Linked DNA regions of Homo sapiens: regions 1 and 2 are each linked to region 3. The links are contacts of gene promoters, found by promoter capture Hi-C in human tissues and cell types (Jung and others, 2019). All regions are on one chromosome and are shown on one strand. Each heading gives the region's core, a stretch centred on a gene start or on the middle of the fragment in contact. The rest is flanking DNA. Distances are from core to core; before and after follow the strand shown. Region 1 has its middle 36 kb from the start of HSD17B10. Region 2 overlaps SMC1A (structural maintenance of chromosomes 1A). Region 3 holds the start of HSD17B10 (hydroxysteroid 17-beta dehydrogenase 10).

Region 1 (2,700 bases), core at 8-2,507, 36 kb after region 3:
CCTCAGCCTCCTGAGTAGCTGGAACTACAAGTGTGCGCTACCATGCCTGGCTAATTTTTGTAGTTTTAGTAGAGACAGGGTTTTGCTATGTTGACTAGGCTGGTCTCAAACTCCTGGCCTCAAGCAATCTGCCCACCTTGGCCTCCCAAAGTGCTGGGATTACAAGCGTGAGCCACCGCACTGGGCCAGGTTTCACCACTGTTAACTAATATCTGGCTTTATTGATCTTTGGCATCATGTAGCATACACCTTATTCCTTTTCATGGCTGAATAATATTCCATTGTATGTATATACAAGTTGAGCATCCCTTATCTGAAAATTCAAAATCCAAAATGTTTTCAGATCCGAAATGATGCCACAGTGGAAAATTCCACAAATAAGTACTTAACACAAACTTTGTTTCATGCACAGAATTATTTAAAATATTGTATAAAATTGGCCAGGCGCGATGGCTCATGCCTGTCATCCAGCACTGTATTTTTTTTTTTTTTTTTGAGACAGATTCTTGCTGTCACCCAGGCTGGAGTGCCTGATCTCGGCTCATGGCAACCTCTGCCTCCCAGGTTCAAGCAATTCTCCTGCCTCAGCCTCCCAAGTAGCTGGGATCACAGGCATGCACCACCACATCCAGCAAATTTTTGTATTTTTAGTAGAGACAGGGCTTCACCATGTTGGCCAGACTGGTCTTGAACTCCTGACCTCAGGTGATCCACCTGCCTCAGCCTCCCAAAGTGCTGGGATTACAGGCATGAGCCACTGCACCTGGCCCAGCACTTTGGGAGGCGAAGGTGAGTGGATCACTTGAGCTCAGGAGGTGAAGACCAGCCTGGGCAACATGGCAAAACCCTGTCTCTATAAAAAATACAAAAATTAGCTGAATGTGGTGGTGCATGCCTGTTGTCCCAGCTACTCGGGAGGCTGAGGTGGGAGGATTGCTTGAGCCTGTGAAGTTGAGGCTGCAGTGAGCTGAGAACACGTTACTGCACACCAGCCTGGGTGACAGAGCAAGACCATATCTCAAAAAAGAAATACATACATACACACACACACATACATATATATTGTATAAAATTACCTTCAGGCTATGTGTATAAGGTGAATGTAAAACATAAATGAATTTCATATTTAGACTTGGGTTCCACCCCAAGATATCTCATTATGTATGTATAAATATTCCCAAATCAAAAAAAATCCAAAATGTAAAACACTTCTGGTCCCAAGCATTTTGGATAAGGGATACTCAAACTGTACCACAATTTGTTTAGCCATTCATCTGTTGATGGACATTTGGACTGGTTCCACCTTTTGGCTGTTGTGAATGCCGCTGCTATGAACATGTGTTAGATGTGCTTGAGTATCAGTTTTCAGTTCTTTTGGGTATATATTTAGGAGTGGAATTGCTAGATCATATTGGAACGAGACCAACACTTCTCCTGTTGTCCTTCCCAGCTTCTCCCCCACCTTCCCTTTTCCCTAGTTTATAAGACATGAGAAAAGGGAGAAAGCAAAAAGTTGGAAAGAAACAGAAGTAAGATAAATAGCTAGACGACCTTGGCGCCACCACCTGGCCCTGGTGGTTAAAATAATAATAATAATATTAACCCCTGACCAAAATTACTGGTGTTATCTGTAAATTCCAGACATTGTATGAGAAAGCACTGTAAAACTTTTTGTTCTGTTAGCTGATGTATGTAGCCCCCAGTCACGTTCCTCACGCTTACTTGATCTATCATGACCCTTTTACGTGGACCCCTTAGAGTTGTAAGCCCTTAAAAGGGCTATGAATTTCTTTTTCGGGGAGCTCGGCTCTTAAGACGCGAGTCTGCCGACGCTCCCAGACGAATAAAAACCTCTTCCTTCTTTAATCCGGTGTCTGAGGAGTTTTGTATGCGGCTCATCCTGCTACAAGATGATGATTCTCTTTATCTTTTTTTTTTGAGACGGAGTCTCGCTCTGTCGCCCAGGCTGGAGTGCAGTGGTGCGATCTCGGCTCACTGCAACCTCCGCCTCCTGGGTTCAAGCGATTCTCTTGCCTCAGCCTCCCGAGTAGCTGGGACTACAGGCACATGTCACCACGCCCGGCTAGTTTTTTGTATTTTTAGTAGAGACGGGATTTCACCATGTTAGCCAGGATGGTCTTGATCTCCTGACTTCGTGATCCGCCCGCCTCGGCCTCCCAAAGTGCTGGAATTACAGGTGTGAGCCACTGCGCCCGGCCTCTATGGTTACCTTTTAGAGGAACTGCCCAACTGTTTCCACAGTGGCTGAACCATTTTGTATTCCCACCAGCAATGTATGAGGGTCCCAGTTTCTCCACATCCTTGCCAACACTTATTTTCTGTTTTGCTGATTATAGCCATCCAAGTGGTGATGAAGTGGTATTTCACTGTGGTTTTGATTTGCATTGCCCTACTGACTAGTGATGTTGAGCATCTTTTCATGTGCTTCTTAGCCATTTGTATATCTTCTTTGGAGATATATCCATTCAAGTCCTCTGCTCATTAAAAAAATCTGGTTGTTTTTGTTTTTGTCATTGAGTTGTAAGAGTTCCTTATATATTCTGGATACATAACCCTTGTCAGATATATGATTTACAAATACGTCCTCCTATTCTATAGGTTGTCTTTTCACTTTCTTAATACTGTCCTCTGATACATAAAAGTTTTCAATTTTGATGAAGTCCAATTTATCTGGTTTTT
Region 2 (2,700 bases), core at 159-2,658, 40 kb before region 3:
GGGGACATAATCAGCCAAATCTAGAATGCAGACAATTCTATAGTACCAACGACCCAGTTCCTTCCATAGATAAATACGAAGGAAAAAAATAAAATAAAAACGAAGAAGAAAATGTTATAGACTAGCAGAGACCAATTTTAACATATGGACCTTACTGGAATATTGATCTAAACACATAAACTGCAAAAAAAATAAAAATAAAAAAATATTATGGGACTTTCATGGAAATCTAAACATTTACTGATTAGATGATATTGTGGAGTTATTGTTAAATATTTTCAGATATAATATTATGGTTGTTTTTCTTAAAAGTTCTCATATTCTAGAGATACATGCTGAGGTAATTATGGATGGAGTAATGTCTAGTTTTCTTTAAAATACTCCAATGGGGGGTATAAAAAATAAGATTGCTTAACTGTTGAAGCTGAGTGCCTGAGGTTCATTATTATCATTCTCTTTACTTCCATATGCTTGAAATTTTCCATAAGTTAAAAAAATCAAATCCTCCTGAATATAATGATGATTGAAACACATCATAAACTATTTAGGAGGCTCCTGTAGTTGGCTATGTGAGATGAAAGTGGCCTGCATTAGACAGTGGAAACAAAAACCAGAATTCAATAGATATTTAGGGCCGGGCACAGTGGCTCACACCTGTAATCTCAGCACTTTGGGAGGCCAAGGTAGGCAGATCACCTGAGGTCAGGAGTTCAAGACCAGCCTGACCAACATGGTAGAACCCCGCCTCTACTAAAAATTAGCTGGGCATGATGGCGGGCACCTGTAATCTCAGCTACTTGGGAGGCTGAGGCAGGAGAATCGCTTGAACCTGGGAGGCAGAGGTTGCAGCAGTGAGTCGAGATCATGCCACTGCACTCCAGCCTGGGCAACAAGAGTGAAACTCCGTCTCAAAAAAAAAAAAAAAAAAAAAAGATATTTAGGAGGCAGAATCCATAGGGCTTGGTGCTTGGTAATTAATTGATTATGTAAAGTGAAAGAGGGAGAAGTCAAGGATGAGGCTCAAATTTCTGGCTGAGCATGTGAGTGGCACTGAGGAGATGGGTAAATATGGGGAGGAAGGCTAGGGCTTGAGGTACCTGTGGGACCTAGCATAGAGATTGCAGCGGAAGCCACGGAAGTAAAGTGATATCCAGGATGAAAGAATGCCAAGTGAGGAGGAAAGAGCCCTGAGGAACACCTGAGGTCAATCTGTTCACTGTACTGAAGTCTCTTCTCTGTGTGGACCTAGGCTTAGCTTAGTTATATACACACATGGAAGGGGAAGACTGATAGCAGGCAAGGGCAGGGGCAACTTGGGGTATGGGGTAGGGAATGTGCATATGTCTGTTTGAATATATGAGGTGGAGATCCTGCCTCACAACTGAATCCTCCCACCCTTGCCAGCTTTCCCCTCTTTCCAGCCATGGTCTTCACAGAGCCCCCAGATGGGCTGACCTCCTCTCTGGACAACTAGGAAGATAGTCCCACTCCCACCCAACCCCCACCCCCACCACACCCCTGTGGTTGATCCTCACCTTCAGATCCTCACACAGATCACCGTAGTCAATCTCAATGAGGGCCTCTCGTGCATAGATACTGGAAATTCTCTGTGAACCACTCACTGAGTCCTCCCCCTGGGAGCTACCCTGCAATGGCAACGGAGAGTCAAGTGGAGCAGACTGGCCATGAGAGTGCACCTCTATAGGGAGCTCCTTTGCAGCCTTCAATCTTTGAGAAAGCACCTTGCTAGAAAGCACCATGGCAGAAGGAACAGAGGCTTTGCAGGCAGAATGACTCAAGTTCAAAATTGAGCTCTATGGCCAGGTGCAGTGGCTTGCGCCTATAATCCCAGCACTTTGGGAGGCCAAGGCAGGTGAATCACTTCAGGTCAGGAGTTTGAGACCAGCCTGGCCAACATAATGAAACTCTGTCTCTACTAAAAACACAAAAATTAGCCAGGAGTGGTGGTGCATGCCTGTAATCCCAGCTACATGGGAGACTGAGGCACAAGAATCACTTGAAACTGGGAGGCGGAGGCTGCAGTGAGCCAAGATCACGCCACTGCACTTCAGCCTGGGTGACAAAACAAGACTCTGTCTCAAAAAATAAAAATAAAAATAAATAAAAAAAATTTGAGGTCTACACTTACTAACATTGTGATTTTGGGCAAGTCACATTCTCAGATCCTGAGTCTCTTCACCTGTAATGTGGGGATAATGCCTGTCTGGCAGGTCTGTGGTTAGGATTGGGGTAATTATGTCACATGCTACCATGATGCCCAGAACATTTCTGGTATTCAAAATATTTTACTGAATTAAACTGAAATGCCATTTGGAAAGTGAGGAGGGAGAAAGATACATGGGACTGAGATATATAACCAGGTCTAAGACAAGATATTAATATATGCAAACCTCCTCTCAGTTAACATTTCCCATCCCCTTGCTACAAATCTTTGCTTCCACTGCTCCTCTTTGGCTAGTATCTCTGGTTTTCCTATAACTAAACTTCCTCACCTCTGCATTGCTGATGTCCCTTACCTAACCCTCTCCTGGCCAATCTTCCTCACTGCAGCTAAGCTATCACCCTCAGGTCCCCTAGCTTTCTGTCTTCCTTTGCTCTTGGCTAATGTCCCTCAATTCCCACTCCTACCAATTTCTGTCACCTGCTGGAGCTAATATAGCTCAGGTCCCTAAGGTTAAT
Region 3 (2,700 bases), core at 182-2,681:
ATAAATTCACATGCTCCTGAAGATTCTTAATTGCTGTGGATCAGAGCACTAATGCAACCCTGTTGTGAGGCTGGGTGCAGTGGCTCACACCTGTAATCCCAGCACTTTGGGAGGCCGAGGCGGGCGGATCACGTGAGATCAGGAGTTCAAGACCAGCCCGGCCAACATGGTGAAACCCCATCTCTTCTAAAAATACAAAAAAAAAAATTAGCTGGGCGTGGTGGCAGGTGCCTGTAATCCCAGCTACTTGGGAGGTTGAGGCAGGAAAATCGCTTGAACCCAGAAGATGGAGGTTGCAAGGAGCTGAGATTGTGCCACTGCACTCCAGCCTGGGCAACAGAGCGAGACTCCATCTCAAAAATAAAAATAAAAAATAACCCTCTTGTGAGAATTATTGATAGGAAGATAAACTAGCTTTTTTGTATCCTTACCTGCTAAGATGATTTCATCAAGTTTCACTTTCTGTAGTTTGTTTCATGAAAACAAGTTTTTTGACTTTGTAAATATAAAATTACAAGGCACAAAATGCATTTTCAAACCATACATAACTCCTCCAGGAGATTGTTACGTCCAATCCCCATCCTCATTGTTGTGAATCCCAGCTTTAGAGAATCCTTATCACAGGTGGTCCCACAGTGCTTGAAGGCTCAGGCCAAAAGAGACAAGGAGATGGGTCTACCGCCCCCATAGAGGAGACCCTTATGGGAGGGACCCCCACAGGTTCCCAGGCCGGTGTTGGTGACCTCATGCACACCCTGGGAGAGGAGAGGTGACCCCACTTACGTCGGCTGGGGCGAAAACGCAGTTGTTTCCTAACTTCTTGGCTTGGGCCTCCCCACCCGAGTTGGGCAGGTCCAGAAGCACAGCAGAGGCTCCCTGCCCCACAAGTCGCTCCGCCGTGGCCAGGCCCAGGCCCGAGGCTCCTCCGGTTATTACCGCCACCAGGCCCTGTCAAAAGGGACATGGTCAGGGTCAGCTGTTACATTGCCCAGACCATCCCCACGCTGTCGCCTGCCTGTTCTCCAGGCTTCTGAGGAGAAGGGGGGAGGGGAGAGGTCGTGGTCACCCCTGCGGGTAAACTAGGTGTGCTGCTTCTCCTCAGCGTTGGGACCTCGGGGGCAGAAGGGATCTCATCCCCAGACAGCCCGTCCCGTGACGATAGATAGATAGATGATTGATAGATAGATAGATAGACAGACAGACAGACAGACAGATGCGCCGCGGAGTGCTGACTTTCACCTCTTGAGCCCAACGGCCACAATACCAGGCCTACATAAGCATGACCCTTTCCCTCGAAACCGATCTCTTTCTCCTAGTTCCACGGCCGCGCTGTCCCGGCCCGTAAAGGAAGGCAAGCAACAGAGGCAAAGAACCTTCTACCTTCACGCTCCGACACGCTGCTGCCATCTTGTCGCCGGCCACTCCACGGGATGGGGATGGGGGCGCGGGCGCTCGTTGATTGGCCGAGGCGAAGCGGCGGAAGGGGCGGATGCGACGGGCCGGGGCGTCTGCCGCTGCCGCATGAGACGTGGGGGCGTGGCCTGGTACGCTAGTCCTTTGGCCAGAGGGCGGATTCCGCCTGCTAAGGTATCCCCAGAGTTATTTCAACTGGGGAAAGAGACCAATAGCAGAAGTACAATACCACAACACCCCTCGCCCTACTCTCTAGCTGGCCTTTTGGCAAGTGGCCTGCTCCGCGTGGGGGAAGAGGGGTGGATATTGAGAACGGATGCCTTTCTCCTCTGAAAAAGTCTTAATTCAAGTATGAATGTATTTGAGACTCCTATATGCTAGACGGTGTGCGGGGCACCTGGGATACCCAGCGGAATAATAAAAGATTCATGCCTTCCAGGAGGGCACAGTCCAGGTGGAGAAAGAGAATTACAGTACAGACACAGACGAATGGACGGAACCAGATTCTGGGACACTCAGACAAGGAGATCCAAAGATGAGGAGTCTGAGTTAGAGAGAGAGAGAGCCATGTAAAGAGAAATATGTTGAGGCCGAGATAGGAAGAGAGATGCCAGGTAGGATCACAGAGAGATGAATGTGGAAAGCCGCTAAGAGAGATGCTTGGAGACAGACATTCTAGGACAGCTGCTGAGAAGCACAAACCTAAAGAGGCAAAAACATCTTTCATCAGTTCAGGCTTTGCTACTCTCCTCTATCTTTGTCTAATTTAAGTCCAAAAGCCCAGATCACACACTGCAGATTGGACTTCAACCAGAGACTATTATTTAAGACCCAGGTCTTTGTCATCCTAGAACATCTTTCAGGCAGCTTCCAGAAGCTATGTCATTAGAGTCTTGAGCCCAGATATCTAATCTGTCTTCCTTCTATACTTTTCCTCAAACCAAGGTCTTCAGGCCATAAATCTTAGCCCACCATTTCAGCCTCAGAACTGCTTTATGTTTTCTCTATCTGAAATATCTCCCCCCACTTGCTTTCTCACCCAGGAAGATTCCCCTCCAGGCCTTCTAGTTGTTGACAGCCACCACACTCATAATCACTACACCGTATTTACCAAAGGATTTAGCACACCGGTCTCACAATTTTCCTATCTACATGAAGTGCTTCCATCAATTTATAGCACTCTTCATCCGGCCCAATATGCTGTAGCCACAGTGGCCTCCTTTGTGTTCATCTTTGCATTAGCTGCTCCCTCTGCTTGGAATGCTCTCCCCTGATCTTTGCATGACT

The links. Contacts are between HindIII fragments. The study calls those that stand out against the background at their distance.
Region 1: a contact is called between a fragment that was not itself captured here and the fragment with the promoter of HSD17B10 in region 3, in 1 of the 25 tissues and cell types used here (adrenal gland).
Region 2: a fragment that was not itself captured here is called in contact with the fragment with the promoter of HSD17B10 in region 3 in 2 of the 25 tissues and cell types used here (adrenal gland and lymphoblastoid cells).

The regions. Positions count from the first base shown.
Region 1 is chrX:53,468,621-53,471,320 of GRCh38, forward strand. No RefSeq gene overlaps it. Among named protein-coding and RNA genes, the nearest start is that of HSD17B10, 36 kb to the left of the region's middle. The HindIII fragment of the contact is 9,397 bases long and covers 1-2,700 here.
Region 2 is chrX:53,393,243-53,395,942 of GRCh38, forward strand. It overlaps SMC1A (structural maintenance of chromosomes 1A), which reads right to left. Exons shown (of 25, transcript NM_006306.4): 19 at 1,536-1,646. Among named protein-coding and RNA genes, the nearest start is that of MIR6857, 11 kb to the right of the region's middle. The HindIII fragment of the contact is 5,879 bases long and covers 1-2,700 here.
Region 3 is chrX:53,432,939-53,435,638 of GRCh38, forward strand. It overlaps HSD17B10 (hydroxysteroid 17-beta dehydrogenase 10), which reads right to left and starts at 1,432. Exons shown (of 6, transcript NM_004493.3): 1 at 1,381-1,432; 2 at 784-948. The coding sequence starts at 1,407. The HindIII fragment of the contact is 21,717 bases long and covers 1-2,700 here.